Linked DNA regions of Homo sapiens: region 1 is linked to region 2. The links are contacts of gene promoters, found by promoter capture Hi-C in human tissues and cell types (Jung and others, 2019). All regions are on one chromosome and are shown on one strand. Each heading gives the region's core, a stretch centred on a gene start or on the middle of the fragment in contact. The rest is flanking DNA. Distances are from core to core; before and after follow the strand shown. Region 1 has its middle 14 kb from the start of SSU72L6. Region 2 holds the start of GPR37 (G protein-coupled receptor 37).

Evidence for each region. The method cuts DNA at HindIII sites, captures the fragments that hold promoters and counts their contacts. A contact is called where the count stands out against the background at its distance.
Region 1: a fragment that was not itself captured here is called in contact with the fragment with the promoter of GPR37 in region 2 in 1 of the 25 tissues and cell types used here (IMR-90 fibroblasts).

The regions. Positions count from the first base shown.
Region 1 is chr7:124,459,474-124,464,575 of GRCh38, reverse strand. No RefSeq gene overlaps it. Among named protein-coding and RNA genes, the nearest start is that of SSU72L6, 14 kb to the left of the region's middle. The HindIII fragment of the contact is 5,914 bases long and covers 143-5,102 here.
Region 2 is chr7:124,763,498-124,768,748 of GRCh38, reverse strand. It overlaps GPR37 (G protein-coupled receptor 37), which reads left to right and starts at 2,957. Exons shown (of 2, transcript NM_005302.5): 1 at 2,957-4,795. The coding sequence starts at 3,773. RefSeq lists a silencer at 2,816-2,945. The HindIII fragment of the contact is 7,043 bases long and covers 46-5,251 here.

The DNA.
Region 1 (5,102 bases), core at 1,850-4,349, 300 kb after region 2:
CAAAATCAATGTGCAAAAATCACAAGCATTCTTATACACCAATAACAGACAGCCAAATCATGAGTGAACTCCCATTCACAATTGCTTCAAGGAGAATAAAATACCTAGGAATCCAACTTAGAAGGGATGTGAGGGACCTCTTCAAGGAGAACTACAAACCACTGCTCAATGAAATAAAAGAAGATACAAACAAATGGAAGGACATTCCATGCTCATGGGTAGGAAGAATCAATATCCTGAAAATTCCCATACTGCCTAAAGTAATTTATAGATTCAATGCCATCCCCATGAAGCTACCAATGACTGTCTTCACAGAATTGGAAAAAACTACTTTAAAGTTCATATGGAACCAAAAAAGAACCCACATTGCCAAGTAAATCCTAAGCCAAAAGAACAAAGCTGGAGGCATCACGCTACCTGACTTCAAACTATACTACAAGGCCACAGTAACCAAAACAGCATGGTACTGGTACCAAAACAGAGATATAGACCAATGGAACAGGACAGAGCCCTCAGAAATAATGCCACATGTCTACAACTATCTGATCTTTGACAAACCTGACAAAAACAAGAAATGGGGAAAGGATTCCCTATTTAATAAATGGTGCTGGGAAAACTAGCTAGCCAGTTTCAGTTTCAGAAAGCTGAAACTGGATCCCTTCCTTACACCTTATACACAAATTAATTCAAGATGGATTAAAGACTTAAATGTTAGACCTAAAACCATAAAATCCCTAGAAGAAAACCTAGGCAATACCATTCAGGACATAGGCATGGGCAAGGACTTCATGTCTAAAACACCAAAAGCAATGGCAACAAAAGCCAAAATTGACAAATGGGATCTAATTAAACTAAAGAGCTTCTGCACAGCAAAAGAAACTACCATCAGAGTGAACAGACAACTTACAGAATGGGAGAAAATTTTTGAAATCTACTCATCTGACAAAGGGCTAATATCCAGAATCTACAATGAACTCAAACAAATTTACAAGAAAAAAACAAACAACTCCATCAAAAAGTAGGCAAAGGATATGAACAGACACTTCTCAAAAGAAGACATTTATGCAGCCAAAAGACACATGAAAAAATGCTCATCATCACTGGCCACCAGAGAAATGCAAATCAAAAGCACAATGAGATACCATTTCATACCAGTTAGAATGGCGATCATTAAAAAGTCAGGAAACAACAAGTGCTGGAGAGGATGTGGAGAAACAGGAACACTTTTACACTGTTCGTGGGACTGTAAACTAGTTCAACCATTGTGGAAGTCAGTGTGGCGATTCCTCAGAGATCTAGAACTAGAAATACCATTTGACCCAGCCATTCCATTACTGGGTATATACCCAAAGGATTATAAATCATGCTGCTATAAAGACACATGCATGTGTATGCTTATTGTGGCACTATTCAGAATAGCAAAGACTTGGAACCAAGCCAAATGTCCAACAATGATAGACTGGATTAAGAAAATGTGGCACATATACACCATGGAATACTATGCAGCCATAAAAAATGATGAGTTCATGTCCTTTGTAGGGACATGGATGAAGCTGGAAACCATCATTCTCAGCAAACTATTGCAAGGACAAAATACCAAACACTGCATGTTCTCACTCATAGGTGGGAATTGAACAATGAGAACACATGGACACAGGAAGGGGAACATCACACACCAGGGACTGTTGTGGGGTGGGTGAGGGGGGAGGGATAGCATTAGGAGATATACCTAATGTTAAACCACGAGTTAATTGGTGCAGCACACCAACATGGCACATGTATACATATGTAACAAACCTGCATATTGTGCACATGTACCCTAAAACTTAAAGTATAATTTAAAAAAAAGAAAGAAAAGTGCAATAAAAATATACTAAAATATGCTAGTAGGTCAGAAAATTAATATTAAAATTGAGATATTAAGCAAAAATGAAAAGACTGGTAATGCATATTGCTGCCAGGGACATACAGGGAAAGAGAGTACTTCCTCACATGACTGGTGAGACTATGAATGAATTAGTAAAGTCTTTGGAAAAAAAATCTGGCAACGTCTTAGTTTAAATTTAGAATCCTCATATATTTGAACAGAACCAATTCACTCTTAGGGAGTCCTCCTATGTAAATAGAAGTGCCATTAACCACAGGAAAAAAAAAGGATGAGATATTGATGCATGCAACAACATGAATGAATCACAAAATAATTATGCTGTGTGTAAGAAGCCAGACAAAAAAAAACAAACTTTTGTGATTTAATTTGTGTAATACTCTAGAAATGCAGGATAATTTATAATGACAAAAATAGTATTAGACTACCAACAACATTCTTCATAGAACTAGAAAAAGCTATTTTAAAATTAATGTAAAACCAGAAAAGAGCCTGAATAGCCAAGGAAATCCTAAGCAAAAAGTACAAAGCTGGAGGCATCACATTATCTGACTATACTGCAGGACTACAGTAACTGAAATAGCCTGGTACTGGTACAAAAAACAGGCACATAGACTAATAAAACAGAGTAGGGAGCCCAGAAATAAGGCTTCACATCTGCAGCCATCTGATCATCAACAAAACTGACAAAAACAAGCAATGGGGAAAGGATTCCCTATTCAATAATTGTCACTGGGATAACTGGATGGTCATATGCAGATGATTGAAACTGGACTCCTTCATTGCACCATATACAAAAATCAACTCTAGGTGGATTAAAAGCTTAAATGTAAAACCCTAAAATATAAAAATCCTGGAAGACAACCTAGACAATGCCATTCTGGACATAGGAATTGGGGAAGATTTCATGATGAAGTCACCAAAAGCAAGCAAAACAAAAGCAAAAATTGACGAATGGGATCTAATTAAACTAAAGAGTTTCTACACACCAAAAGAAACTATCAACAGAGTAAACAGACAACCTACAGAATGGAAGAAAATATTTGCAAGCTATGCATCTGACAAAGGTCTGGTATCCAGCATCTATAAGGAAATTAAACAAATTTACAAGAAAGAACCCCTAACAACCCCATTAAAAAGTGAGCAAAAGACATAAACACTTTTCAAAAGAACACATACATTCAGCCAACAAACATATGAAAGAAAGCTCAATATCACTGATCATTAGAGAAATGCACATCAAAACCACAAGAGGTGCCATCTCACACCAGTCAGGATTACTATTACTAAAAAGTCAAAAAATAACAGAAGCTAGCGAGGTTGTGGAGAACAGAGAATGCCTATACACTGTTGGTGGGAGTGTAAATTAGTTCAACCATTGTGGGAAGCAGTGTGGTGATTTCTCAAAGAGCTTAAAACAGAACTACCATTCAATCCAGCAATCCCATTACTTGGTATACATCCAAAGGAATATAATTAGTTCTATCATAAAGACACATGCAGATAGGTGTTCGTTGTAGCACTATTCACAGTAGCAAACACATGGAATCAACCTAAAGGGCCATCAATTGTAGACTGGATAAGGAAAATATGGTATATATACACCATGGAATACTAAGCAGCCATTAAAAAGAATGAGATTATGTCCCTCGCAAGGACATGGATGGAGCTGGAGACCATCATCCTTAGCAAACCAGTTCAGGAACAGAAAACCATGTACCACATATTCTCACTTATAAGTGGGAGCTAAATGATGAGAACACATGGATACAAAGAGGGGAACAACAGACACTGAGGCCTACTAGAGGGTAGAGAGTGGGAGGAGGGACAGGAACAGAAAATACAACTATTGAGTACTAGGATTAGTGCTTGGGTGATGAAATAATCTGTACAACAAACCCACGAAATGAATTTACCTATATAACAAACCTGCATATGCACCCTGAACCTAAAAGTTAAGAAATAGATCCGTGTTTACCTTAGGATTGGGGAGGGCTAGGAGAAAGTGTTTAAACAGAGGCCTGTGTAAACCTTTGGGGTGACAAATATGTTTCAGTGCCTTGAATGTGGTGGCAGTTTCATATATATATATATATGTGTGTGTGTGTGTGTGTGTGTGTGTATATATAAATATATTTAAGTTTATCAAATTTTATATGTTAAATATGTAGTTTATGATGTGTCATTATACCTCAATGATTCAGTTAAAATTTTTAAAAATCCTTCAATGGAATGCTTTACTATGGCTCTGCCACTCTTATGTTATGCACTCTAAATTGTACATACATTGAAAATCTTTCAGTGTCTCATATACTATCACTGCCCTCAGGATCTCTAAAGCCAGTGTTTCCTCTCCCTGAAATATAACTCACTGCCCACAACCCAGCTCATCCTATTTATCTTTTAGTTCTCAGCAAGAGATCATTGCCTTTATAGACTCCTCCCTAATCCCCGTAAATGGATTTGGTCATCCCTCCTTGGATTTCCCCTGCTGTAGCAAATATCATAATTTATTGCAAATACTTTTGTTTTTTAATAAATCCCACCAGAGGATTGTCTCTACATGATCAGGTACTAAATTATCATTGTATCCTCAGCAATTAATACTATGCCTGACAGAGTGGAAACCTGAAAAATATTTGCTGGATGAATGAAAAGACTTATGAAAGTTGTCTTTGCAGTGAGGTCAAGTGTTCCAGGGCACTGGTGGTGGTGAGAATCTCTAAATCTCTGAGATATTTATGTGGGAGCTTTATTGGAGAGTGTTCTTAGGACCTACACTTGTGAGAAAACAGGATTTGGCAGAAAGAAAAGTTGAACTGCACTACATTTCGAGCAGTAGCTTCAGTTGAATCCATACACTGCTGGACGTGGGATGGACCTGGCAGTTATTCAAACAAAAGCAAGAGAACTGGAGCTTCATATCTCCATATCTACTATACAGTGGATTGAGTAAAGCCTTGAACCAGGAAGCTCATTTCTGCAAAGTGCAATTCCTAGAGCAGGCTCAGGTATGAGCTCCCAGCTTCCAGCATACCCAGAAGCTGGGAGATGGGAACCTTGAACCGGAAGAGGGACCTGGGCCATGCAAAGATGTACCGCATGATGAGTGAGGCAATGCATTTCAAAATAAGCCAGAGGCCTAGAATTGACAAATCATGTGATGGACTAGGAGTCTGGGTGGGTAAAATGTCATGTTCTGAACTGTTTCCTTATA
Region 2 (5,251 bases), core at 1,708-4,207:
ATAAGTTAGAGAACCAGAACTTGGCAACCATCCAAGTAGGTAGGCATCATTGTTCAGGTTAAGGAAGGGACCACTCATGAATGAGATACCACCACAGACAAACACAGGTAGCTCCTCCTTCAGGCCTTTCCCCAGCCACTCTCCAAGCATGGTACCTGAGTTCTATAGCCCACCACTTTAAGAATGATGCCCAACTCTGGGCCAAGCATGTGTGAATTACAATGGAGCTTCTAAGGGAGCAGGTAAAGGGATTTTTCCCTGTTTAGCTTTGATTCCTTTCTGTGTAGTGATAGAGATTAGTGACACATTTATGTGGTCTAGAGTAAAAAGGATAGAAACATATCTTACATGTGTAACTTAAACTCTAAGCTAATGAGATGAGAAGGGAAGCTATATCACTGTTTCATTTTGGCAACTTATTTTTCCTGTTTCATTATTAATCCAGATTTCCCTCTTCTAAATTTTTTTTAAAGAAACAAGATACTACAGTTAGAGTAGAAGCTTCCTTCCATCCCATGACCATTCTTCTATTTCCTGAGGTGACTAATATTCTGAAGTTGATCTGTATTTATTCCATTCACATATTTTATATGATACACCATGTATGATTATCAAATTGTTTTATGTGCATTTTAAGAGCTACACAAATGGTAGCATTATATAGTTAACACATCAAGTTCTACGTTTTTCCCTTACATTTATGTTTCTGAGATTCAGTCTTGGTGATACACATAAGCCTAGTTTGTCCTTTTTATGAGTATACAAGAAAATATAAATTCAGTGAGAGCAGAACTTTATTTTATTCACTGCTCTGACCTAAGTAACTTGAGCAGAATATTTCTTTAATGAAGTAGTGAATTTGAGAGAATGAGTTAGTGTATATAAATGAATGAATTAATGTACAAATGAATGTGTGCTATTAGCTTATATTTTTTCCTATTTCTGGCTTTGTCTGATTTTGACATTAAGGTTATTCTGCCTTCACAAAATGAACTGAGTAGCTTTAAAACATTTTGTATAAATGTATATTTATTCCGCAGGATATGCTAAGGTCTAGCACTTTCCTCTGGGTAGATCTTGATGAATGATTTGATTTCTTTAATGTTATAGTTCGATTACAGTTTCTGAAAATTTTCTTCTTGAACTATTTTTGGTAGTTTATGTTTTTCTATACAATTATTCCTGTTGTCTCCATTTTTAGATTTAATGGTGTATTAGTTTACTATTGCTACTGCAACAAATAACCATAAATTTTGTGGCTTAAAACAACACACATTCATTATCTTACAGTTATGGAGGTCAGAAGTCTCAAATGGGCTAGTAGATCCTTTTTTATGCCCATTCTAGCTTCCAGAGATTGCCCACATCACTTGGCTTGTGTTTGTTTTTACTCTGACCCTCCTGCCTCTCATTTGTAAGGGCTCTTGTGATTATAGTGTACCCACCTGGATAATCACGATACTCTCCCCATCTCAAGAGTCTTAGCTGAATTGCATTGGCAAAATCCCTTTTGCTCTGTAAGGTAACATACTCACAGGTATTAGGAATTAGGATTCGGACATTTTTTTGGGGGGGCATTATTCTATTTACCACAATTGGTATCATATGTTCCATTGTGTTTTCTCCTGCCTCTCTAGATGTGTTGCTTTAAAAAAATTCAGGCCGGGTGTGATGGCTCACGCCTGTAATGCCAGCGCTTTGGGAGGCCGAGGCGGGCGGATCACGAGGTCAGGAGCTCAAGACCAGCCTGGCCAACATAGTGAAACCCCGTCTCTGCTAAAAATACAAAAAAAATTAGCCGGGCATGGTGGCGGGTGCCTGTAGTCTCAGCTACTTGGGAGGCTGAGGCAGGAGAATCGCTTGAACCCGGGGAGGCGGAGGTTGCAGTGAGTCGAGATCGCACCACTGCACTCCAGCCTGGGCGACACAGCAAGACTCTGTTTAAAAAAAAAATTCAGAATGTGTTTATTTCTTCCTCTATCATTTTCTCTTCATTAATTTGTCTATTTTATTAGCTATGCCCTGACAGTTTTGACAGGGTTGTGGGATATAGTAGAAAGGTTGGAAAGGCATGGACAGCCGTGCTGGGAGTGCTGTTCGAGTAATTTTCTGCCTCCAGTCATTTCCCACTACTTCATCAAATACAACTACCTCACTATGCTCTGGGTGGTACGAAGTAACCCATGGTAGGATGCTTCCCAACTCAGTGTTAAAGGTAATGGTGCATCCTGAGCTTTCTCGCTCTGCATCTCAATCCTGGAACTGGTAATTCTCTATGACTGACACCTCTGAGCTCCCATTCTCTCCTATCTCTAGGGAATACCTGAGGAGGTGAGGTTTCACCTTCTTACTCCCCGCGGCCCAACCCCCGTCCGCCCCTCCCCCGCCCCGCCCCTCGCCCCCCAGAGCTGAGACCTGGGCATGCGCATCAGCCGCAACAGATTGGAGGGGACCCTGCTGCTCACTCCCCTGCTACCCTCCTCTCTTCCCTCCCCCGACCGCTCTCATATTCCCGTTCCCACCCCCACCCCCCACTCCCGCCCCGCACCCGCCCCTAGCCCGGGCTCGGGGACCTGTCAGGCTGGTTTCGACAGCTGGGGAATTAACCTGTCCCGCCCATCCCTAGCCTCGAGCCGCGCAGGCTCCGCGCCTCCGCCCTTGTTCCCTCCCAGCTCCTCCGAGTGGAAGCCGCTACAAATGGCTTGAATGAAACGTGTGTGGGTTTAGTGAGTGGTGAACCACCAGGGGATCCCGTCTCCCCACAAACCAGTATCTCTCCGAGGAGGAGGCGAAGGAGTGGGAGGAGGCAACGAGCCGAGAGTCGAGCTTCGCGGGCGCGCGCAGCGGCTGGAGCGCGGGGGCGAGGCCGGGCCACCTCCCCTTCCCGGCCGCGCACTGCCTGGCCCGCGGCGGTTCCAGGCACCACCCTTCCCGTCCGGGCTGAGCCCGCTGTGGCAGTGACTAGCTCCCGCGGCTAGCGGCACTGTCCACCGACGAGCGGCGCCCTCTTCTCCCCCTTCTCCCCACGATTTCCTTCTCTGCGGCGGCACGCCGTCCAGCAGCCTGCTTCGCCCCGTCGTCAACTTTGAGCTGGAGGAGAAGCAACTTTGGCAGTGGCCGCGGGGTTGGAATCCCGCTTCTCCTCGGCAGCAGTAGGCTCGCAAGTCGCTGGGGTTAGGTGGGGCAAGAGTTTCGCCGGCGCATCAGCGCTGCTTCGGACTGTTTGCAACGTGTTTCCAGCGAGCTGGGAGCGGGGTTGTGACTGCGAGTCGTCTGGGGGAGGGGGACTTGTTTTTCTTTTCCTCTAGAGACCTCGGCTTGCAACTGGATCAAACGCTGTCGAAAGGATGTAAATAGGCAGAGCAACTGTTACCAAGAAGGCCACCACCCCCACCCAAAGGCAGTGAGGAGTGTGGGGCTTCGTCTGGGCTCCCCCGAGTCTCAACAGTAATCAACAGTCAGGTGTTGATTGCAACTTTTCAAGGTCAGCCACCGGGAGTAGCCTATTCCCTCTAGGAACCTTGGAGGGCATACCTTGCTGGGACTCAACTTGGCTGAGAAATGCACAAGATGCCAAAGGAGGAAGGATTATAGGGGGCGTGTGTGTGACCCCCAAGACCGATCTTCCGCTATCACCCTAATCTCCGGTTCCCCGCTACCCGGGCGGGGGTGAGTATGTGACATGTGCCTAACTCTCAGCAGCAACTTCGGCAGCAGGTGTCGATCCTAACTAAGCAGGAGCTGCGGCTGCCGGGTGTGCCCTCACCAAGCCATGCGAGCCCCGGGCGCGCTTCTCGCCCGCATGTCGCGGCTACTGCTTCTGCTACTGCTCAAGGTGTCTGCCTCTTCTGCCCTCGGGGTCGCCCCTGCGTCCAGAAACGAAACTTGTCTGGGGGAGAGCTGTGCACCTACAGTGATCCAGCGCCGCGGCAGGGACGCCTGGGGACCGGGAAATTCTGCAAGAGACGTTCTGCGAGCCCGAGCACCCAGGGAGGAGCAGGGGGCAGCGTTTCTTGCGGGACCCTCCTGGGACCTGCCGGCGGCCCCGGGCCGTGACCCGGCTGCAGGCAGAGGGGCGGAGGCGTCGGCAGCCGGACCCCCGGGACCTCCAACCAGGCCACCTGGCCCCTGGAGGTGGAAAGGTGCTCGGGGTCAGGAGCCTTCTGAAACTTTGGGGAGAGGGAACCCCACGGCCCTCCAGCTCTTCCTTCAGATCTCAGAGGAGGAAGAGAAGGGTCCCAGAGGCGCTGGCATTTCCGGGCGTAGCCAGGAGCAGAGTGTGAAGACAGTCCCCGGAGCCAGCGATCTTTTTTACTGGCCAAGGAGAGCCGGGAAACTCCAGGGTTCCCACCACAAGCCCCTGTCCAAGACGGCCAATGGACTGGCGGGGCACGAAGGGTGGACAATTGCACTCCCGGGCCGGGCGCTGGCCCAGAATGGATCCTTGGGTGAAGGAATCCATGAGCCTGGGGGTCCCCGCCGGGGAAACAGCACGAACCGGCGTGTGAGACTGAAGAACCCCTTCTACCCGCTGACCCAGGAGTCCTATGGAGCCTACGCGGTCATGTGTCTGTCCGTGGTGATCTTCGGGACCGGCATCATTGGCAACCTGGCGGTGATGTGCATCGTGTGCCACAACTACTACATGCGGAGCATCTCCAACTCCCTCTTGGCCAACCTGGCCTTCTGGGACTTTCTCATCATCTTCTTCTGCCTTCCGCTGGTCATCTTCCACGAGCTGACCAAGAAGTGGCTGCTGGAGGACTTCTCCTGCAAGATCGTGCCCTATATAGAGGTAATGCCTTCCAGGGGCTCTCAAGCTAGTGGCTTTATCTGTTTTCGGGATTATAGCATCAGAGAACTGCTGCTGGATGCACCTATCTAGCTGAACGCCTTTCCTTTTTATCTGGGGCCCTCTTTCATTTCTCTTTCCAATCATTTATGCATGTATGTATATACAAAAAGAGGCAGCTTCGCGAAATCACCTTCAAATTCATCTGCTCCTGGGCTGTAAAAAAAGGATGATCTCACAATATACAGAATTGTTTGGAGTATAAATCTATCTCCCTGAATATGGTGTTATGCGTATTTCTGATTTGGCACTTGTCAGAGATTTTAGGGTTAAGTAAATGGCCAGCCTAAGGTTGTCATCATCAGAGCCTACAAGGAAAAAAAAAAAAACATTAGCATTTGTGTACTAGTTACCAAGTGCTTCAATGTGAGTTTTCCCCCAAGAAGATTATTGCATTTT